Regions from separate parts of the Homo sapiens genome. Here regions 1, 3, 4, 5 and 6 are each linked to region 2. Evidence: promoter capture Hi-C in 16 types of primary human blood cells and fetal thymus (Javierre and others, 2016). All regions are on one chromosome and are shown on one strand. The core of a region is centred on a gene start or on the middle of the fragment in contact, and the rest is flanking DNA. Distances in the headings are between cores, read along the strand shown. Region 1 has its middle 31 kb from the start of SLC25A51. Region 2 holds the start of ALDH1B1 (aldehyde dehydrogenase 1 family member B1). Region 3 overlaps DCAF10 (DDB1 and CUL4 associated factor 10). Region 4 overlaps DCAF10 (DDB1 and CUL4 associated factor 10). Region 5 overlaps TRMT10B (tRNA methyltransferase 10B). Region 6 overlaps LOC105376037 (a long non-coding RNA gene).

What was found. Contacts are between HindIII fragments. The CHiCAGO score rates a contact against its expected background, and 5 or more counts as called.
Region 1: a contact is called between a fragment that was not itself captured here and the fragment with the promoter of ALDH1B1 in region 2, in 1 of 17 cell types (M0 macrophages). The highest score is 5.5, in M0 macrophages.
Region 3: a fragment that was not itself captured here is called in contact with the fragment with the promoter of ALDH1B1 in region 2 in 1 of 17 cell types (monocytes); the score reaches 7.1 in monocytes.
Region 4: a contact is called between a fragment that was not itself captured here and the fragment with the promoter of ALDH1B1 in region 2, in 3 of 17 cell types (M2 macrophages, M0 macrophages and monocytes). The highest score is 6.6, in M2 macrophages.
Region 5: a contact is called between a fragment that was not itself captured here and the fragment with the promoter of ALDH1B1 in region 2, in 5 of 17 cell types (M0 macrophages, monocytes, M2 macrophages and 2 more). The highest score is 7.8, in M0 macrophages.
Region 6: a contact is called between a fragment that was not itself captured here and the fragment with the promoter of ALDH1B1 in region 2, in 3 of 17 cell types (monocytes, M1 macrophages and M2 macrophages). The highest score is 7.9, in monocytes.

Annotation. Positions count from the first base shown.
Region 1 is chr9:37,871,447-37,875,469 of GRCh38, reverse strand. No RefSeq gene overlaps it. Among named protein-coding and RNA genes, the nearest start is that of SLC25A51, 31 kb to the left of the region's middle. The HindIII fragment of the contact is 4,174 bases long and covers 1-3,987 here.
Region 2 is chr9:38,390,685-38,394,241 of GRCh38, reverse strand. ALDH1B1 (aldehyde dehydrogenase 1 family member B1) reads right to left here and starts at 1,540. Exons shown (of 2, transcript NM_000692.5): 1 at 1,435-1,540. RefSeq lists enhancers at 1,064-1,153, 1,194-1,243 and a silencer at 1,454-1,773. The HindIII fragment of the contact is 5,526 bases long and covers 1-2,087 here.
Region 3 is chr9:37,810,581-37,814,532 of GRCh38, reverse strand. All of the region lies in intron 1 of DCAF10 (DDB1 and CUL4 associated factor 10), which reads right to left. Among named protein-coding and RNA genes, the nearest start is that of DCAF10, 12 kb to the right of the region's middle. The HindIII fragment of the contact is 4,860 bases long and covers 1-3,952 here.
Region 4 is chr9:37,855,259-37,859,124 of GRCh38, reverse strand. DCAF10 (DDB1 and CUL4 associated factor 10) reads right to left here. Exons shown (of 7, transcript NM_024345.5): 5 at 1,774-1,884. Among named protein-coding and RNA genes, the nearest start is that of SLC25A51, 47 kb to the left of the region's middle. The HindIII fragment of the contact is 4,995 bases long and covers 1-3,866 here.
Region 5 is chr9:37,774,312-37,777,955 of GRCh38, reverse strand. TRMT10B (tRNA methyltransferase 10B) reads right to left here. Exons shown (of 9, transcript NM_144964.4): 8 at 1,551-1,674; 9 at 1-355. The coding sequence ends at 249. Among named protein-coding and RNA genes, the nearest start is that of EXOSC3, 8.9 kb to the left of the region's middle. The HindIII fragment of the contact is 5,813 bases long and covers 1-3,644 here.
Region 6 is chr9:37,794,782-37,798,401 of GRCh38, reverse strand. The region is part of intron 2 of LOC105376037 (a long non-coding RNA gene); the gene reads left to right. Among named protein-coding and RNA genes, the nearest start is that of DCAF10, 4.2 kb to the left of the region's middle. The HindIII fragment of the contact is 3,366 bases long and covers 590-3,620 here.

The DNA.
Region 1 (4,023 bases), core at 651-3,150, 520 kb after region 2:
GTAAAACTGCCATTTCAGGACAAATCATTTTGAGTTAAGAGGTTCTAGACTTTTATGGAAAATAAAGAGCACTGGCTGCCCGAGACAAGTTCCAAAGTGAAAATGTAAATGTCTCTTGATTTCTCCATCGCCTCCCAGGCTGGATTAGGCCCCTTCTGTGCCAAGTGATAACTGTTTCTTGCCTGTCTCTAACTGCATGTTTGTACTTTATCTGCCAGGACAATGTGATCTCCTCGAGGGCAGGGTCTGTCTTTCAGATTTCTATATCCACAGATTAGAGGTTCTCATAATAAATACATTTAATGAAGTAATCAATCTGATCTCTGATATTTTCTTTATCAATTATTCTCCTTGTTTCGGAAACCCTTTTAATTTCTTAAGAATTTCTTTTAGAAATCATCAAGAGGAATACATAATGGATAATTTCACTTACGTGAAGTTCTAGAAGAGGAAAATCTGTAGCAGAAACAAACAAACAAACAAACAGTGTTTCCCTCTGGGAGGATGGGGGCAGAGGTTCACCTGGAAGAGGCAGGAGAGAACTTGCTGGGATGGTGGTAGTACTCTATATGTTGACAGATGTTTGGGTTACACAGGTGTATACATTTATATAAATTTAAGTAATGTAGAGTTAATCTGTGTACTTCATTCTATGTAAATTTTACAACAAAAGAAAAAAACAAATGTTAAACTCTAGTCATGTGAGGACTTTTAGAAGGATGGGTACAGATGTCAGCAATTTAAAATGCATCAAAAATTAAGATGGATTAGGCTGGGTGCAGTGGCTCACACCTGTAAATCCCAGCACTTGGGGAGGCTGAGACAGGTGGATCACCTGAGGTCAGGAGTTCAAGACCAGCCTGGCCAACATGGTGAAACCCCATCTCTACTAAAAATACAAAAATTAGCCAGGCGTGATGGTGGGTGCCTGTAACCCCAGCTACTTGGGAGGCTGAATCAGGAGAATCACTTGAACCTGGGAGACGGAGGTTGCAGTAAGCCGAGATTGCACCACTGCACTCCAGCCTGGGCGACGCAGAGAGACTCCGTCTCAAAAAAATAAATAAAACAAGATGGACTGATGGACAGAGTTAGTTAAGGGATAAAACAAGTAAAATATTAATGGTAAAACCTTGGTAAACAGTGTTCACTGTAAAGTTCTTTTAACTTTGCTGTTTGGACATTTTCATAATAAAATGTTGGGAAAAACCATTAGGGGGTTTATCATTATTGCTGAATAATTGAGAAACTCAGTTTAGCTCTTTTAGTATGCTATTCTTAGATTGCTATGAAGTTATAAGATACCACTGAAATACTTGCTAGAAGGGAACACAAGCCTGTGGCCTAGAAATTTACTTGTCTTCCCCACTAATGATGATAATATGGCAGTTCCCTCCCACTGAGGTCTGGACTATCCCCTCCTGAATGTGACAGGGCTGGTGGCTAAAACAGAGGCCAATCTTTCAAACATTCTTTCCTGCTGGGCGCAGTGGCTCACGCCTGTAATCCCAGCACTTTGGGAGGCCGAGGCGGATGGATCACGAGGTCAGGAGATCAAGACCATCCTGGCTAATACGGTGAAACCCCGTCTCTACTAAAAATAGAAAAAAATTAGCCGGGCGTGGTGGCAGGTGCCTGTAGTCCCAGCTACTTTGGAGGCTGAGGCAGGAGAATGGCTTGAACCTGGGAGGCAGAGCTTGCAGTGAGCCAAGATCACACCACTACTCTCCAGCCTGGGCGACAGAGCGAGACTCCGTCTCAAAACAAACAAACAACAACAACGAAAAAGCATTCTTTCCTAAGACTGCCCAGCAATAAGGGGTCTACCCACCTCCTGACTAGCAGGGACCAGGCTACTAGGAAAATTATGATTTTCCTGCAATACACTGCAACTTTAAATAAACGCCAGGAAATCTTTCTTTTAATTACATACATTTATTAAGTATGCAAGAAAAAAACTATTTAAGAATAAATGCAATGTGTTTAGAACAAATCTGATGCTCTGTATTTTAACTTTTAAAAAGTAACCATTTCACAATTAAATTTGGATCCTTCATTTTACCCCAACAAAAACTAACCTTTTATAGAGAAGAACTTTAACAAGTAATGTCAACAAAGCATTCTAAAGTACTCATAATTTAAACAACTTGCAAGGAGACAACTGTTTTTTTTGAGACAGGGTCTGGCTTGCAGTGGTGCAGTCTCGGCTCACTGCAACCTCTACCTCCCAGGTTCAAGTGATTCTCCTGCCTCAGCCTCCTGAGTAGCTGGGACTACAGGCATGTACTACCACGCCCAGCTAGTTTTTTGTATCTTTAGTAGAGACAGGGTTTTGCCATGTTGGCCAGGCTGGTCTCGAACTCCTGACCTCAGGTGATCTGCCTGCCTCAGCCTCCCAAAGTCCTGGGATTATAGGCGTGAGCTACCTCACCCGGCTCCCTGGAAATAACTTTTTTTAAAACACTTTTTAAGGCTAAAAAGTATTTTGAGTTGTGTATGCTCTGGTTAAAGTTTCAGTTGTTCCTTTTCTGGATTTATTGCTATTGTTAGCAACAGTTGCAGCTATTTACAGCTTATACCAGGGAGTGTATATTTCTGTAGCTGCTCTCTCATTTTGAGTTAAAAGATAAGCTACACAGCACCAGGTCTGTTCCTGAGAAGGTAAGATCATCTTAGCTTACTTAACTGCCCAGTAATGTAAATATCATGTTTTTGTTTTATTGTTTTGTTTTTTGAGACAGAGTTTCGCTCTTGTTGCCCAGGCTGGAGTGCAATGCCACGATCTCGGCCCACTGCAACTTCCACCCCCCATGTTCAAACAATTCTCCTGCCCCAGCCTCCCAAGTAGCTGGGATTACAGGCCTGCGCCACTACACCTGGCTAATTTTTGTACTTTTAGCAGAGACGGGGTTTCACCATGTTGGCCAGGCTGGTCTTGAACTCCTGACCTCAGGTGATTGCCTGCCTTGGCCTCTCAAAGTACTACGATTACAGGCATGAGCCACTGCACCCGGCCAATATCATGTTTTAATCAGGGAACTCTTAGCTCTAGTTCAAGAAGTGCAAACCTGATAATGTACTGAAAATGATGTAGCTGAAGGGACACATTGTTCTTCTATATTGGCCTCAAAAAGGTAGGAGGTTCTCTAAATGGACTTCTGTTATCTACACAGAGATCCATGGCATCTGTCATCCATGGAAGATCTAAATCTTAACTGCATTTTCTATATCCGTGGTTCTCAAACTGTGGTCCCTAAGACCTACAGCATCAGTGGAGGACTGATTAGAAATGCAAAACTAGGGCTCCCACTCCAGACCTACAGAATCAGAAACTCTGGATGGGGACCCAGCAATCTATTTTAACACATTTTCCAGGTGATTCTAATGCACAGTAAAGTTTGAGCACCACTTTTTTTTGTCCTTTGCCAAAAGGGAGGAGCCTGGAGGAAAACTCAGGGACAGGCCCAGTGGTTGTTATACAAAAATTGGACTTTCCCAAGAGGGGATGTAATGCCATGAGGTAGGGGATAGCATGAAGTCTCTCCAAAGAATGAGAATGACACTCCCTGACTAGGACAAAGTCAGAGCTAATTAATGCGGTATTACAGCAGATGCTTCTAATACTTGGTGAGCAGACAATGATAAAGCTCCCAAGAGTACTTGCCCATGGTCTTGAGTACTCTCCTGTAAGGGTGGGGGAGTCAGGGATAAGAACCTGATTCTAAGGCCTAAAATGGCAGTCTATTTCTGCCTAGTATACTCACTGGGACACACTGCCAAATAGAGATGATGCATAGACACCAGATAACCACTGATGACTGATAACGTCTCTGTTAATACATCCACCTTTACCCCATCAGGAACCAGGCAATCCTATAATTATCCCATTATTGTGGAAAAAATATATGTGGTTGAAGCCACACAGATCAAGAGAAAAACTCTAAGAATATGGCTCTGGAAGCAATAAACCTTAAAAAGTTGTAAGCTTGCTTATCTTTGCCTTTTAATAATATTGTGGTTTTT
Region 2 (3,557 bases), core at 291-2,790:
AATGCTCAAAATCCTAAGGAAATTGAACACTCGAACACAGGATTCTTAGCAAAGCAATTTTACTTCTGCGCAGAGGGATGCCTCCTTGGCCAGTTGCCATGAGAGCACACCTGAACAAAGGGGCACGAGAGCCTTTATTCCTGATGCAAGTCCTGCCCCTGTACCCTTTCCCCATTGGCTGGGGTCAGGTCGTACAATCTAAACTAATCCCGGTTGGCTAAACATTTGATTTATTTTAGATAGAGTGGGCACGTAAAAGAAAGTGGAGAGAAAGGGGAAAGGGTGTCTGTAATGAGCTAGAAAGTTAGTCTTCTTTCCAAATAAGCAAAGGAATGTGAGCTGGTACTGATAACGCTTGGTACTGTGGCATGCCTGGGCATCTAACAAAGGCAAAAAGGAGAAAAATGAAAAAAAAAAAGGGGGGGATACTAAGAATTAAAGAATAAAAGATTGATCAGATTATTTGAAGAGAAACCTCATCATATCCCACAGGGGGAAGCTGAGTCAGCAGATCTGCCAGGGGTGCCCAGGGTTCCATTTAGCTCAGGACTTTGCCATATGCTGGGACACAGCCCCCTTGCCACCAACAGGCCTGGCTCTGAGGGTGAGGAGACCAAAAGGAGGTAGGGGAAAGGGGAGTCACCAACCCATGGGGTAAGGATTGGAGGGGTGAAGCAGTCAGGAGAGGTGGTCATAGGCCAAGGCTGGCAAACCTTTGCAGCCACACCAAGGCCGTTCCTACTCTTGGGGCCTATATGGGGTTCTTGCTGGGGCCTCCACTTGCTGATAGGAAGATCACAGCTCACAGAGCATCATGCTTTACAGTTTGCAGGCTGTCTTCTCACGGGAAATTTGCCAAGCCTCTCTGCAGTCCCTGGGTGGTCAGGGTTGATGATGACCCCCATTCTGGAAGAAGGCTGGGCATCAGAGAGGTTCAGGGACTCACCGAGGACACACAGCAAGAAAGTATAGGAGCCTCACCCCAGACTTCCACAAACCTAGCTTTGCATATCCTCCTGAATACAGGCAATTTTTTACAGTTCACCCACAGCGGGAAGGACCGGACCTTCTCTATCCGCGGGAACTGCAGCGGCGCCCACCTCACCCCTTCTGCGGGGGAAAGGGCGCAACCTTTGGGCTTGTCCAAGCCTCTGGGCTATGGTCAGGGGCCCTCTGTTGAAGTGGGCCGAGTGGGCAGGAGTGTTGAGGTCGAGCTAACGTGGTAAGGTCTGGGGGCGTCTGTGTCCTCGGGGCTCCTGTAGCGTCACCCAGAGGCGGGGGATGGGATTAGGGGACGTGGAGAGAGTCCTACAGTGCAACGGCGGAAAGGCCAGCCCCCAGATGCGGACGCCGCGGCCCAGAGAGGAAAGCCCCCACGCGGAGCCAGGAGCTGCGGCTTCCCGAGGGAGCCGAGGGGAGACCAGCGTTAGTTACCTGCAGCAGGCTCGGGCTCCGGTTCAGGATCACGCTTGGGTTCTGGTTCCGGCCCTCCCAGCTCTGTCCACATGGCCGCCCAGGGCTGGCCGCAGGTCCCGCCTCCGCGCAGCCCGGGGCTCAGCGGCCAATGAGGCTCCGCCTGCGCCTGGGGCGCTGCCTACGTCCTGTCGCCGGCCAAGGCCGCTCCTCCCTCGCCCCGCCCGGTCTTTCCCGGTCCCCGCCCCTCTACCCCCGGCAGCCCGCACCGCTTCAGCGCTCCCTCCCTCGGGTCTCCGCAAGCCCAGTGTCCACGTTGCTCAGATCTAGGCTCCTAAGGCACTGGTTTGGGAGCGGAAACAGAGATACCCAGAGAGGGGCAGGGGCTTCCCCAGGTCACACAGCAAAGTTTTCGGAGACCGAACCCCAACTACACTTTGCATTTCTCCCCGCTGCAAGACGCTGCTTAATCGACTGCCATCCTTGAGACTCCCCTTAACCCCTTCTCTGCCTCGCCTCTCCCTCACTTTTTTTGTCCAGGATTCACTAATTTCTGTCCTCCACTTTCACTGCTCCTTTCTTCAGTTCCTTCAAGAAGATTTTATATTTGGGCATTTTTCAAAGTACATTTTTGTCCTAAGGACAAAAAGAATGTATGCACAGTGTAGAAAGCTTGGAAAACACAGGAAAGGATGAAAAAAGAAGAAAAATATCACCTGTAATCTCTTCACCTACGGTAGCCATTATTACGGTGTTCGTCCTGCTAGTATTGTTTCCTCTGCATCTTTCAAAATTATTTTAATAAAAATAAAATCATATAGTAACCTCTGTTGTGCTGCTTTAAAAAAAATTTAAAAACTTAGCGCTGTATTTTGAAGTTTTCTCCTATCACTAATTACAGATGACATCATCCTCTCCAAGGTGGCATAGAATTCTGTTGTAGGGGTAAACTGTTGGACATTTAATTGTCTCCATTTTGTTGCTATAAAGGTTGCCAAGATGGACCACTGAACATGCATCTCACTCGCTCCACCCTCGCTGCACCTTCCTTCTGGCTAGGGAGGTCCCAAAGCTAACCGCCATGTTTCCCAGCCTCATTTGCAGTTAGAGTTCTGGATGTGGACTAGGTGCTGCCAATTAGTAGTACTCTGCCGGATGTGGAAGGCGGGCACGCATTGGAGGGTATTGTCCTGCCCCTGTAGGGTGGCACTAGCAGGATAGCAGAAATGGGAGATGTTCTGCGGCAGCATTCCTTGTCCCTTCTCCAGCTTTCTGGCTGTGGACCGGCCGCTGTGGCTGTAGCCGCTCCTTGACCTGGCTTCCTGCTCTTTGAATGGAGGCTGCAGGAGGGTGTCTGAAGTAGCCTCAGACAGGCACGAGGCTGGTGGGCCACGTCCATATTGTCCTGAGAGTTGGTCCTGGTCTGGCTAAGGCTTGCTTCTGCCTCCGGCACTTGCAGCAGGTCTGTAAGCACCCAGTTCCTTGTATTAAATCCCTGCCTCTCCACTGATCTAGGGTGCTCACATGCGACTGCTTGGACCTAATTCACTTAGTTCTTTCCTTAAGCTACATCTCTATGGAATCTTTTGCTACCATATCATCCTTAGCATGTTCACAGCCCTTGCTGCAAAAGTTAGCCATCCATGAAGGCACTATGATTGGCATCTTATCACCTTGATGCCCATGCTTTCCTCGGGTTTCTCCAGCAACGGCATGAGCCCCTTGCCAAGGCCCTCCTGCCTCCCCCACAGCACGTGGACAGCCTAGCTCCCCTTGGGCACTTGGCATAGCACTCCAGGACTGATTGACTTAATGATTAACTGACCAATCCTTAAGAGGCCTCATTGATAGAGGGAGTGAGTTTATGGCAAAATGAGTATCAGTCCTCGTGTTAGAGTGCATTGGAAACTGTGGCAGGTCTGAGAGGCCAGCTGCAGACAGGAAGTGACCCCCATGCGGCAAGGTTGGAGGCTGTGCCCCTTGAGGAGCAGCTGAAGGAACTGGGATGTTCACCCTTTAGAACTTGAAAGACAAGGCTGTGCCGTCCAAATCTCTGAAGGGCAAAACCAGATAGGATCTGTGGGGTCCTAGAAGGCAGAGCCAGACCAGTGAAGAATACAGAGGAATAACTCCCAGAAAAAGCA
Region 3 (3,952 bases), core at 576-3,075, 580 kb after region 2:
TGAGGCAGGAGGATCACTTGAGCCCAGGAATTTGAGATCAGCCTGGCAACACAGCAAGACCCTGCCTCTTAAAAAAAAAATTGAAGGCCAGGCGTGGTGGCTCACGCCTGTAACCCCAGCACTTTAGGAGGCCGAGGCGGGCGGATCACAAGGTCAGGAGTTTGAGACCAGGCTGGCCAACATGGTGAAACCCATCTCTACTAAAAATACAAAAAAAAAAAAAAAAAAAAAGCCGGCGTGGTGGCACATGCCTGTAATTCCAGCTACTTGGGAGGCTGAGGCAGGAGAATCGCTTGAACCCGGGAGGCAGAGGTTGCAGTAACCTGAGATCGTGCCATTGCACTCCAGCCTGGGTGACAGAATGAGACTCCATCTCAACAACAACAACAACAACAACAACAACAAATATATATATATATATATATATATATATATATATATATATATATATAGTGACAAATAGTTTCAAAGTGGTTCAATTGCACTCTGATCTCTATTCCTTCTTTTTACCTTCTTTGGGTATAATTTGTTGTTCTGTTTCAAAGTTCTTGAGATGGATGCTTACTTAGCTTATTGACAATTCAGCCTTTCTTCTTTTCTAATATCTGCATTTAAGGATCTAAGATTTTCCTCTATACATGGCTTCAGCTGCAATTGCACAAATTTTGATAGTGTTTTCATCATTCAGTTTCAAATATTTTATAATTTATACTGTGATTTCTTCTTTGACTCACAAGTTATTTAAAAGAGCATTTCCAAAAATAAAGAGATTTTCTAGTTATTTATTTCCTGAACTTTCATTGAAAAACAAACTGCTTAATCTCAATGCTTGGAAATTGTATGAATTTGTTTTTTGTGTTGTCTGATATTAACATAACACACCAACTTTCATTTAGCTAATGCTAGCAGTGGTATGCCTTGACATCCTTTTACTTTAAAACTTTGTGTATCCTTACATTTCAGGTATGTCTTCTGTAAGCAGTTTTTAAAAATCTGATCTGACAATCATTGTCTCAGTCAAATTACATTTAATGTAACTACTAGCAATCTTTGAGTTGAAATCTGTCACCAGAGAATTTACTTTCCATTTGTCCTGTCTGTTCTATGTCCCTTTTCAGTTGCTTTAAACATTTTTTTGGCCAGGCACATTGGCCCATGCCTGTAATCCTAGTGTTTTAGGAGTCCAAGGCAGGAGGATAGCTTGTGGCCAGGAGTTGGAGATCAGCCTGGACAACATGTGGAGACCCTATCTCTATAAAAAAATAAAATGGCCAGGCATAGTGGCTTATGGCTGCAGTCCTAGCTGCCCAGGAGACAGGCGGGAGGATTGCTTGAGCCCAGGAGTTGGAGGTTGCCGTGAGCTGTGACAGCACCAATGAACTCCAGCCTGGGCAACAGTGCAAGATCCCATCTCTAAGAATATATATACATTTGCTATTGATATCTCCCCATATGCTATTTAGTATGTTAAATATATTTTTACTCTTCTTTTAGCGAATACCTAAAGAGCTAACATCATGCATCAACTTTTTAAAGTGAAGTACGTAATTATTACTTCCTGGATGATGCAAGAACCTTAGCTCACTTCAACTTCCTTTATCCCATCCTAATATTTAATTTTTTAGATATAATTATATATAAATTTAATGCTCTACTAAAATTTTTCATGTTTTATACCATTCCCAGCCTGGACAACAAACTGAGACCCTTGTCTCTACAAAAAATAAAAAAATTAGCCAGCCATGCTGGCGTGTGCCTGTGGTCCCAGCTACACAAAAGGCAGAGGCAAGAGGATTACTTGAGCCCAGGAAGTCAAGGCTGCAGTGAGCAGTGTTCATGCCACTGCACTCCAGCTTGGATGACAGAGAGAGACTCTGTCTAAAAAAATGAAAAAAAAGTTCACATTCATTTTGATTTACACGCATATTTATTTTTGTTCTTTTCATTCTTTCCTGTACCTCTGATCTTCCACCTTTTTCCTTCCTCCTAAAGAATAATTTTGTTACCTGTTTCTGTGTAGATCTGATAGTGGCAAATTCTCTCAATATTTGTCTGGAAATATCTTTGTCTCTTGACTTCCATTGTTTCTGCAGTGAACTTAGCTCTCTTTTTGAGCCTCCTTTGAAAGTAATCTATCTCTTTCCTCTAGCTGCTTTTAAGATTTTCTTTGTCTTTGTGCATGTATGTTTTATTTTAGTTTTAGCAGCTTTACTCTTGTAGCTAAGTGTGGCTTTATATTTCTGTCTTTTTTTCTTCTTTTTTTTGTTGTTTGTTTTTGAAGAAGTTGGTAGGGATTTTTGTTTTTGTTTTTAAAGCAGTTGGAAGGTTTTTTTTTTGTTTTTGAAGCAGTTTTGTTTCAGAAGGTTTGGAGTGTGGTGGCGCTGGAATGCAGTGGCGCAATCTCAGCTCACTGCAGCCTTGACCTCCCAGATTCAAGTGATCCTCCTTCTTCAGCCTCCTGAGTAGCTGGGACCACAGGCGCATGCCACCACACCCGGCTAATTTTTTTGTAGAGTCAGGGTTTTGCCATGTTGGCCGGGCTGGTCTCAAACTCCTGAGCTCAAGAGATCCAACTACCTCAGCCTCCATAAGTGCTGGGATTACAGGGGTGCGCCACCATGCCTGGCCTGCTTTTTTTGTCTTTCTCTTGCTTGAGATGTATAGCCTTTCTTGAATCTACAATGTCTTTTGTTAATTTTTAAAATTGTCATCCATTATCTGTTCAAATATTGATTTATCTTCATTCTCTTTAATATCTTTCTGAAACTCCATTTATATTTATAAGATCTTTTCCCTGTATCTTATGACATATCTTAATCTCTATGTCCCATTTTGGTAAATCTGAACTTTATTCTGTATATTTTTTTCTCATCTATTCTCAAGCTCACAAATCCTTCAGCTGTGTCCAGTTTGCTGTTAAATCATCCAGTGAGTTTTTATCAGTTACTGTACTTTTTAGTTCTAGGGTTTTCTTTTTTTAGCTTCTAGTTCTCTGCTAAATTTCTCCATCTTATAATTCCTTGAACATATTAAATAGTTTTAATGTCAGATCTCCTGTGGGTCTATTTCTATTGTTTGCTGATTTTCTTGGTTTTTCAGACAACGAATCTCTTTGTACTAGTGCTCGTCACTGTATACAAAAATTATAGGGATAATTTAAAGCACTGGATGATATATTATATTTTTAAAAAAATTTCTTTAGAGACAGGGTCTTGCTTGGTCACCCAGGCTGAAGTGTAGTGATGTGATTATAGCTCACTGTAACCTCAAACGCCTGGGCTTAAACAATCCTCCCACCTCAGCCTCCAGAGTAGCTAGTATGGCAGGCGCACACCACCTTGCCCAGCTAATTTTTAGATTTTTTGCAGATATGGGATCTCTCACTATGTTGCTCAGACTGGTCTCCAACTCCTGGCCTCAATTAATCTTCCCTCCTCAGCCTCCCAAAGAACTTGGATTAAAGGTGTAAGCCACGGCACTCAGCTGCATATTTTCTTCTTCCATAGAAGATTCATCTTTAATTATGGCAAGTAAGCTAGAGTAGAGGTGCCGGCAATCTGAGGTCTTCTTAATCTACGTAGGGAATGAGATTATTTGAAGCTGGCCTTTAGTCCCCATGAGTACTGTCGATTCTGGATTCACCTTTAGTCCTAGGGTATACTGGGTGAGGGGAGGGGAGTTTCAATCCCAAACCTAAATTGCGGATCCTAAATTGCAATTCTTGTAATCTCATCTATCCCACCCATGAGTCCATTAGAAATACCATTCAGAGGCCAGGCGCAGTGGCTCAAGCCTGTAATCCCAGCACTTTGGGAGGCCGAGGCAGACAGATCACCTGAGGTCAGGAGGTCGAGACCAGCCTGACCAACATGGAGAAAGCCCGTTTCTACTAAAAATACAAAAATTAGCCGGGCGTGGTGGCAGGCGCCTATAATCCTAGCTAATCCAGAGA
Region 4 (3,866 bases), core at 393-2,892, 540 kb after region 2:
ATAACAAAACTATACTGAAATAACTATTTCACATATGATTGAACTTTAACAATTTTAGAGAAAAATATACTCTTATTTTAAGAATTAATTTGGAAAACCTATAACAAAACCAGACAAGAAATGCATTCTAAGTAGGTGGTTTGCTAACTGTGCTCCTTTGGGGTTCCTCAGGAGATGGCAAAAGTGGGGAACCACGTGTGGGCTGAGGTGTAGATGGAGTGGGGAAGGCTGGAGGGTCAAGAGCCTCCCTAATTTTTCTTGAACCAGAGCTACTTTGATTTTATTTGTGCTACATCTCTAAGAATCCACAGCAGATTTCATGTCAAAAATAGAGTTCTAATGCTGAAATGCATTTGAAAGCCTCTGCTCTATACAGCTATTATATCTGCCAAAGGATAGTGTTAACATACTCTGACATCTGAAGATCCAGGATTTCCAACATTTAGAGCAACTTCACCTATAAGCCCCACCTTCTCCCATGTTTTCCCTCTCTTTTCACCCTCTCATTTTCCTCTTCTTCCCAGCCTCCTCATATATCATCTCTTCCCTCATTCTTAACTCTCTGTGGCATAGAACTGCTGTATATTTGTGTTTGTGTGTTTACCACTGGTCAATAACAAGCAAGCATGTTAACTATTCTTCTTAAATTAAGTTTCTTTTTCTTGTGGATGGTGTAGTCAATCAATAAAGATTTTTCTCAATGATTATTAGAAGCCTTGACTTGTTTCCCATAGCACAAGTGGAAGGAGAACAGGAAGAATCTGCAAAAGATGTTTGTGTTACAAATCAAAGGAAAAATGTTATACTTCTGGGCATAAATCTTTAAATTTAAGAGGAGGAGCCTTTAACCTTAAAGTGAAATATCACAGACTTCAATATCCAGAGGCAAGTGGATAGGCCATATAGGTTAGAAAGAGCTCTTAAACCATTCTACTGACATAAGTAGCCATGCAAGATAACCAGCATCTACTAGGCAAAGCCACCCAGTGAAAACACAAATTAGAAGTCTAAGATTTAGTCTCTGCCCAAAATAACAAGGTAGAGAAATGTCTATCTCCAAAAGTGACCCAAAATGACAAAAAAAAAAGCAAGCCATCTCTGGCTCTTAATACTCAGTTCACAAAGAGAAGAATAAACAATGAATGGTATAAGAGCTTAGACGTCAGTTAGTATGAAGAGGAACAGTATGTGGAATTTGTATAGGCAGAAACCATTTCAACTGGGGGGGTGTGGTGGAAGGTATAGGGCAGAGCAACTAGTTCTGCCAGAATGGCTAGGAAAAAACTGGGAAATACAGAGAGGAGCCAGATGGTAGCTCACTTTATCCTACAAACCCTTGGAAGCTGTCAGGCATTGCACAGACAAGGAAATGGCAGAGCAAAAAGTCTGAGGGTAACCAGGTGACTTTCACAATTACCTGAAAATTCATGACTTATATTTATACAGAGCTTTCACGTGCATAATCTCACTTAATTTTCACAACAATCTTGATTGAAATCTATATTTCTGAACTACTTCCTCTCCAAACTAGACCAAACTAAGTCCAGCTAATAAAACCAAAGCTCAAGTTCTATTAAGATTTAACTCAAGATATTCAACCCCAGGGACTCTCGGTTAGCTTTTTGAAGATGATGACTGAGGGATAAATCACCTCATCTCCATTGCTTTTATTTTTATGGATTAAAACCATAAAACTGGTTTTAATCAATCAATAATTAATCAGATTGGCATAATCTGTTGTTACAAGATTATAAAATCCAACTTTTAACCTACCTTCTCTTTGAGAGGCTCGTGACATGTGTTTCTCAGAAGAATTAGAATCACTATGATGACAAGGTGAGCCAGAAACTCTAGGACCAGATGAACTTGATGAAGTGGTCAAATCTTAAAAATATAAAAAATTCTGACAATAAACCTAGCATAACTCTGGTAGTGGCTCTTAACTTTTTAATTATCTACTCGAACCATAGTTTTAAAATTTTGAAAAAATGCTCATATATCACTGGCCTATAAGACTGAGGAAGGCAAGACAGCTCTTTGAAGTGTTCTAAGATCTAGTCCCTTTCTGAATCTTTTATATCAAAGACTTGACTATGTGAAATAAAAATGAAAAACCAAATAATCATAGGAGCGTCTTTGGATCCTCATGATTTCTGTACTAAAATGGAACCCAAAAATTCCATGAAAATGAAAACTAAGCTCTTAAGCCTATTGTTTTATGTTAAAATAGGGTCCAAACAACAGGCCCATTACCAGAAACATGAAGAGATTCTTCTTTAAAGTATACCAAAAACTTCCATTATCATTCTTGAAATTACGTGAATAGTCTTTTTTTTTGAGACAAGGATCTTGCTATGTTGCCCAGGCTGGACTCCTAATTCCTGGGTTCAAGTGATCCTCCTGCCTCAGCCTCAGCCTCCTGAGTAGCTGGGCCTAAAGGCATGCACCACTGTGCCAAGTTTATGTGAATACTGTGAAATGTGACATAAAGTTTACATTGAAAAAAATAAAATGAGTATCAGGTAGTGGAGTCTGATATATTACTCCAAATAGCAGTGTCTATTTCATCATCACATTTTGCTAGTGGTCCCATACCTATGTTAAGAATTCTTACTAGTCTAATTTCCTGTAATGTTATTTAGTATCAGAATTACCATTAGAAAACTGAAAACCTTGTTGGTTTTTGAGTTGAAATAGGCCAACTAGACATTCAAAATCACTATTTCTCACTAAGTTAGAGTTGCTTATCATGTTTAACTTAAAAGGCAAATTTGAATCTCAAAGGATTATACTCGTATATTTATGAAATCCCTTGTTTGCAAGTAAGTTGGTAAAACTTAAATTTCTACTTTTGACAGTTATGCCAGGCACTGCAGTACAATGATGTCTGTACTTTCCCAAAGGAATTTTCAGAAGTGGTCCTGTGCACAAGGAGAAAGATTCCAACCTTTTTTTTCATTTCCTTTTTTTTGGACACAGGGTCTTTCTCTGTTGCCCAGGGTGGAGGGCAGTGGGGCACAATCATGGCTCACTGCTGCCTCAACCTGCCAGGCTCAGGTGATCCTCCTGCCCCAGCTTCCTGAGTAGATGGGACTACAGATGCATGCTAGCATATCTGGCTAATTTTTGTGTTTTTCGTAGAGACAGGGTTTCACCATGTTGCCCAGGCTGGTCACAAACTCCTGGGCTCAAGCGATCTGCTCACCTCAGTCTCTCAAAGTGCTAGGATTACAAACGTGAGCCACTGCACCTGGCTAAATTTTTAAGTTATTTGTAGAGATGAGGTCTTCCTATGTTGCCCAGGCTACCCTTGAGTTCAACTCCTGGGCTCAAGCGATCCTCCCACCTTGGCCTCCCAAAGTGATGGGATTACAGGTGTGAGCCCCCGCACCTGGCCCCAACCATTCAAAGCTGCCTTTTAATAGCAATTTATTAGCATTCTATGTTCCAAATGCTTAAGTCTTTTTTCCCCTGGATTTTTGTTTATAATGTAAATGATGGGTATGTCCCCACACCAGTCCCCTCTTTCCCAAAGGTAGATGAAATATAGTCTTTTTTAAATCACATAATGTTGATAAAATACAATACGTACATTTTTCTGAACCCTAAATTCTCTTAAGTCTAACAAAATCAGCAATGGGAGAAGAGACAGAGTTTTAGCAAAAGAGCGTTTAGAGAGTAATGAGATAAGATGGCACCAGCTACCTGTGTCTGGACATCTGTAAGTCTAGGATACAGATAAAACTAAAACTCTATATTGACCATAATTTAATAAAAGCTCTGCTTGATTCCAGAAGGACTTAAGACCTTGTGCCATCACTAATTTTTGAGATAGTGATGATTCAAAATTACTGATGAAAAGATCC
Region 5 (3,644 bases), core at 890-3,389, 620 kb after region 2:
TCGGCTCACTGCAACCTTCGCCTCCCGAGTTCAAGTGATTCTCCTGCCTCAGCCTCCCAAGTAGCTGGGACTACAGGTATGCGCCACCACACCTGGCTAATTTTTGTATTTTCAGTAGAGAAGGGTTTCACCATGTTGGCCAGGCTGGTCGTGAACTCCTGACCTCAGGTGATCTGCCCACTTCGGTCTACCAAAGTGTTGGCATTACGGCGTGAGCACCTGGCCACGCAGCTGCAATCTTAGGCCCATCATTCCACTGAGTTCCGAAGAATATAGCCTTTTCCTGAAGAAACTCCTTTCTTCAATGCTTCAGGCCAGTTGTGAGTCTCTAAGTAAGTGGACAGGATATCAAACACTGTTAGAGAGTAAACAGAAAACACAGTGACCACAGAGGGAAAAAAAGAACGAGTAAATGAAAAGGATGTTCTGTAATATTTCGTTCAACAAACCTATTCTGCACCATATGTGGTACTAAGGTCTTGCGGGGAGAGGCAAGGACACAGGCTCTGCTTGCTCTCAAGGACCTCAGCCTACCCTGAAAGATACAGGCCTATGAATGGATAGGGTGCAACAGAAAGGAACACAGTAAAATGGGAAACAGAAGGGCTCTGCTGTGGCCTGGGATGGGGAAGGGCCAAGATGCTCCTGAACTGAACCCTGAAGATCAAACAGGAATTCAGTGGTGAGAGGTTAAAAGCTGGGCATTCTAGATGAAGGGGACAATTTTTTTTTTTTTTTTTTTTTTTTTTTTTTTTTTTTTTGAGGCGGAGTTGCACTCTTGTTGCTCAGGCTGGAGTGCAATGGCACGATCTCAGCTCACCGCAACCTGCACCTCCCAGATTCAAGCAATTCTCTTGCCTCAGCCTCCAGATTAGCTGGGATTACAGGCGCCTGCCACTATGCCCTGCTAATTTTTGTATTTTTAGTAGAGACGGTGTTTCTCCATGTTGGTCAGGCTGGTCTCGACCTCCCGACCTCAGGTGATCTGCCCACCTCAGCCTCCCAAAGTGCTGGGATTACAGGTGTGAGCCACCGTGCCCAGCTTTTTTTTTTGTTTTTGAGACAGAGTATCACTGTCACCCAGGCTGGAGTGCAGTGGTGTGATCTCGGCTCACTGCAACCTCCACTTCCCAGGTTCAAGTGGTTCTCATGCCTCAGCCTCTGGAATAATTGGTATTACAGGCGTGCACCACCACGCCTGACTGATTTTTGTATTTTAGTAGAGATGGGGTTTCACCATGTTGGCCAGGCTGGTTTCGAACTCCTAACCTCAGGTGATCCACCCACCTCGGCCTCTGAAAGTGGATTACAGGATTACAGGTGTGAGCCACTGCACCTGGCCAAGGGGACAATTTCAACTATCTTTAACATAGTTGGTGACGAAGAAAACAGAATGCCTCTTAGTGGCCAGAATATATGTCATGACGTACATGCAATAAAGTCCACACACATTAGTCACAGAGGAGACTGACTCAAAGGCCACTTAAACACAGTGCAAAGCAGCAGCACCAGAACTCACACACCCTGGATGGGGGCCGTGTAAGAAGTACCTTGATTGATGGCCAGTATCTCTGAATGATAGTTTTTCCCATTCTGGTTTCTGACCATGTATTCCTGGATTGGCAAGCGTGCGGTCTTGACAGAGTATTCCCGGGCCTTTTGAAATGTCACCTTCTGTAAATATATAGTTAAATATTTTTCTTATAAAAATTATACATGAGTATATTCTCAATGTAATACAGCATTAAAAATAAGTAGCCTATTGTGGAATGGAAGAAACTGCAGATAATGAGTTAACTGTCTCAAGAGCTTATGTGACAATATCTTACTTTTTGGGGGGTCACTCATCCACAGTCCTCCACTCACTGCCACTTAGAACCAAGAGGGAAATAAGCAAAAGAGGCACATCTGCAGCCACAGTAGGCATCAAAAGGCCCAAGCAGTCTAATCAATCAGAGCACATTCTGAGCCCTAACTCAGTAAGACCCAATTCTGGATATCTGGAACTTCCAGCTCATTGCCAAAAGGCAGCATCAAATTAGAGGAAAAGGTAGACAAGATTCAAGACAGGTGCACCACTGCAACAAGTGGCATTAGGGTGTGAGAAGAGAGAGCCCAATTAAAAGAAAGGGGCCAGGTGAAGTGCCTCACACAACACTTTGAGGCCAAGGCCAGAGGACTGCTTGAGCCCAGGAGTTCAAGACCAGCCTGAGCAACATAGGGAGATCCTGTCTCTACAAATAACAAAAAAAAAATTAACAGGGTGTGCTGGTGTGTGCCTGTAGTCCCAGCTACTCTGGAGGCTGAAGTTGGATGATCACTTGAGCCTGGGACATATATCAAGGCTGCAATGAGCTGTGACTGCACCACTGCACTCCAGCCTGGGTGACAGAGGAGACCCTGTCTCAAAAATATAAAAGGGCGGGCTCTGAAAACTGCAAAAAGGAGTCACAAGAAGTCCATCAACTTGAGGCCATTTAGTGTCAGAGTACAGAAACTGATGTCCCTTTATAAGATGTTCCTTAGTCATGAAGTCCCTCAGACTGAGTCATGACTCAGTCAGATTACATTTGCTGCCTTGTAAGAAGCACAGGAAAGATTTTCTACCTAAGACTTCAGGATTAAAGAGAAAGGTTCAGATTACTGGGATAATTAACATGCCAAGGCTTGGAAGGGGTCTCAATAGTGTTAACTGTATCACTCTAACCACCCATTCATTGTCTGTTCTCTATGACTTCTCCAAGAGGCCATGTGGCCACTCAATGGACAGCTCTTGTGACAGGGAGTTCATGCATCCTGGGACAACCCACTCCAGTTTTGATAGTACCAGCTGATAGGAAATTCTTCTTGATCTTGAGCAAAATTCTGTTTTCTTTGAGACTTCCACTCATTCATCCTAGGTCTATTCCCCCAAGGCCAAACCATGCAAGTAAGATGGCCCTTCCAAAAGATGGCCATTCAGAAACTTGAAGGCAGTGATCATGCCCCTAGGAATCCTCTAGTCTCCAGATTGTAGCCTCAGTTCTGTCAACTCTTCTTTGAATTTCAAGTCCCTTCATCATTCAGGACAAGTTGAACTTGTTCTAAGCTAGTCCAGTATCATTTTGTTTACGGTCCCATAACTGACTGGCCATCATGAGTATGGTCTAACCAGGTGGAATAGTGTGAAGTGGACCTAGTACCTTTTCGGTGCTGACACCTGCCTCACATGAAACAAAATTTTAGATAGAACTTCCAAAAATGTTTTAAGCGATACAGGGACTTATTTGAAAGGATAAAACTCCTTTGCATATATGAGCTATATGATACGTTTGTTTTATAAAAAGTCTTATTCCTTTATAATCACTTTGAAGTACAGAATTCAAAATTAGGATATTTGGGTGTTGCCCTAGAAGAGCTTACAATTTAGTTTATGTTCTTTGCACAATGATTCATAATAAAATGACTCTCCTTGAAGAAATGTTGTTCTTAGCTTATTTCTGTGAAGAAGCCAAACTCCAATAACAACCAAAAAGTTCTAAACATCTCACAAATCTTCCAGTTATTTTTCAGTTTAAATGTTGGTGGACAGATAATATGTTAAAACTGCACATCTGTAAGTCATGCACTGCTCACTGACCCTCTGAACTTAACTGCCTCAAAAA
Region 6 (3,620 bases), core at 1,023-3,522, 600 kb after region 2:
AAATTAAAAAAAAGAATTGGCACTTTGGGAGGCCGAGGCGGGTGGATCATGAGGTCAGGAGATCGAGACCATCCTGGCTAACAAGGTGAAACCCCGTCTCTACTAAAAATACAAAAAATTAGCCGGGCGCGGTGGCGGGCGCCTGTAGTCCCAGCTACTCTGGAGGCTGAGGCAGGAGAATGGCGTGAACCCGGGAAGCGGAGCTTGCAGTGAGCCGAGATTGCGCCACTGCAGTCCGCAGTCCGGCCTGGGCGACAGAGCGAGACTCCGTCTCAAAAAAAAAAAAAAAAAAAAAAAAAAAAAAAAAGAATTGGAATGACAACCAAGAAAACAAATGTGTCCTTTCAACCAGGGAGCCTTCTGTAGCCCAAAGAAAACAATGTACTCAAGGAGTAAAGTGATCCTATCATATAAGCTTATTGAAAAATAAAAAGCAAACATTCATATAATGTTTAGTGTATGCCTAATATTATGCTGAGTAAAGTGATCCTATCATATAAGCTTATTGAAAAATAAAAAGCAAATGTTCATATAATGTTTAGTATATGCCTAATATTATGCTGAGTTAAGTGATCCTATCATATAAGCTTATTGAAAAATAATAAGCAAACATTCATATAATGTTTAGTATGTGCCTAATATTATGCTAAGCTGGTTCATATATATTAACTCAAAACTCAAGGTATGTTGGTACGATTATTATCCCCATTTTAGAGATGAGAAAACACAGACACAAAAAAGAAAAGTCAGCCTGAGAGTGGTAAAGCCAGGATTCAAATCCAGGCAATCTAGCTCCAGGTTCCATGCTCGTAACCAGGTGCTACACACACATTTGTAGATTGGCTTGGATCTATAGCTATCGCTGTACATACAAGCTCCTTGCCAAGGATGGCAACTCAATAGTATTTTTTAAAAACCTCCAAATCTAAGCCAATCTACAAATATCAGGTCTGGCTCCCCTTTTCTTCTGAACACTTTTAAATTCTGAACCTTTGAATAACTGTAATCCCATGAAAAAGAACAACTTCCATTTGTTGAGTAAGTGCTTCACCAGGCTTATTGGTAGGAGCTTTGCAAGCATTGTCTCTAAATTTCCCTTTACTGGGGGCAGCCATAACTTGGCAACTACGAGGAAATGCAAGCTCAGTATTGCCACAGCTACAGATTTTTCAAAAAATGCCACATGTGGAAGTTCAAAATGAGGCCTGCTGTGGGCTCAATGATGCCACAAGAAATAGGACATAGGATGATATACCTAACACAGCAAGGAGATGCCTTGTGTGGCCATCAGTAGATCTTTGAGAAAAGACAGAGTCACTCTGTTTTACAGGCGTGAGCCACTGTGCCCAGCCTCATATTCTCTTTATTTAAGAAGATACCGGAGGTTATGGACCTCTAGCAAAATGGACAGGTAAAGCAAGAAAGTGGAATAAAAGTGATCTAAGTGGATCTAAGAAGGAGAGCAGTGCAGGAAGGTATAAAAGACAGGTGTACAAAAAGGGAGGGAAATATGACACATGCTACAACGTGTATGAACCTTGAGAATATTATGCCAAGTGAAATCAGCCAGTCACGAAAGGATATATATACTGTATGTTTCCACTTCTATGCAGTACCTAGAGTCGTCAAATTCACAGAGACAGAAAGAAGAATGGTGGATGCCAGGCACTAGGGTGAGGTGGGGATGGGGAGGTATTGTTTCATGGGTACAGAATTTCAGTTTTGCAAGATGAGAAGAGTTCTGGAGATGGATGGTGGTGATGGCTGCACAACAGTATGAATACACTTAACACTGTGTATGTACTGAATGTACATGTAAAAATTGTTAAGATGATAAATTTTGTTATGCATATTTTACCACAATTAAAGAAAAGACAGCTGTGCAGCAGGCCTGAAGAGCAGCCCCCCCAAAGTGGGAGGAGCACAGAGTGGGAAGTCTCCAGAGGAAAAATGGAAATGGAATGTTGCAATCTATTAAGGCGAGGCAAAAGACTCCAATGCCAGAATAGTGGAAGAAATTAACAAAGTATATAGAATAACAAACAATGGACTGAAACGAGGCAATCACCAACTCCATGAAAAATAAAGGATTGCATAAAATGTACAATCTGTCAAGGCAGATAACAATATTTGCACTGGTAATATTGTAAAAAATGGCTTCTGATTTAACCAGAAATTGTGCTGTAACTATGCCGTGTGTTAGCAAAGCGTGGAGAGGGAGGGATGAAGAGTGTGGAAATAGGAAGAGCCAAAACCACATCTACCTTGTCAGGAAGTCAACACATTCTCTTAAAATTAAGAAATCAAGCAATATCAGTGTATTATATTTAAACATTGAGGTAAAATAGCAGAGAAAAGAGCTGTAGATGAAGGTGGTTGTCTTTTCGGATGGGAACTGGAGGGTGCAATGGGTAGGAATTTTTTCATCTTCTCAAACTGAAATTCGTATACTTAGGCATGAAGTCCCATTTCCACCCTTCAACCCCCACTCCCAAGCACCTGGCATCCCCTGCTCTTTTTCAGAAGCCTTGTAGACTCAAAATTACCTGCACTATTTAGGCGAAAACTAAAAGTGGATATTTTCTAAGGTGTAAGTCATGTTACTGTTTTTCCTCAGGTATACTGTTTTCAGCCTAGAGCAAAAGTAAACTTTTAAGTGGTCTCTGCAGGGATATCTGACATTAAATGTTCATAAAGCTGGAGAAATACCTAGCAAGTTTAAAAGTTAGTGGAGCTTTCCCTGGTACAGAAACTCCTTCACAGAATTCACACTATGCCTTTGATATACCGGTTTCTAGGTTCTTGGGATCTGAGTGTGTATGTGCATTTGCACAAATTTGGTAGTCTGAATCTGGTGTGTTTGATGCTATGACAAATTATGGACAGTGAGCTATGGAAACACAGATGAGGGACAGTTCAGCAGAGGGTCAGAAGATACTCCCTGGAGGAGCTGGTGATCAAGCCAGTTTTTAAGGAGAGGTTAAGCAGAGGGAGGGAGACTGGATTGTTAAGCAGGGTGCATACATGGCATGAAGAATGGCACAGATCAGGGCATGTTTGGGAAATTTACAAGGGATTTGGTGTTGCTCAAGAAATGGAAGTCAGGGAGAAGCAGGATGAGGTGGCAAGGTGAGCAGAGGAGAGGGTCACAGAGAGTCTTTTTTCCCTGTAGGTGATACGATGCTCTCAGAGGGCTTTCAGGCAGGAGAAAGGCATGGTCAAAGCTGTGTTTGTTATTTGTTTTGCAACAAGTTTTTCCATATATTTGCCCCATCAGGCTGAATTGTCATCAAGAAGACACCTATTTTGCCTGTCTCCATATTATGTTTTTAGTTATGAAAAATTTTCAAACAAAATTAGAGAGAAGAGTATTTAAAAAAATAACTATATGCCCATCATCTAGATTCCATTATTAGGATTTTGCCACATTCAATTCATCTCTCTCTCTCTCTCCTTTTTCTGTGAAAATAATTCTTTATTGTGGTAAAATATATATAAACATAAAATTGACCATTTTAATCATTTTTAGATATACAGTTCAGTGATATTAGGTACATTCACATTGTTGTGCATCCATCACCACCATCCATATCCAGAACTTTTTCATCTTCCCAGACTGA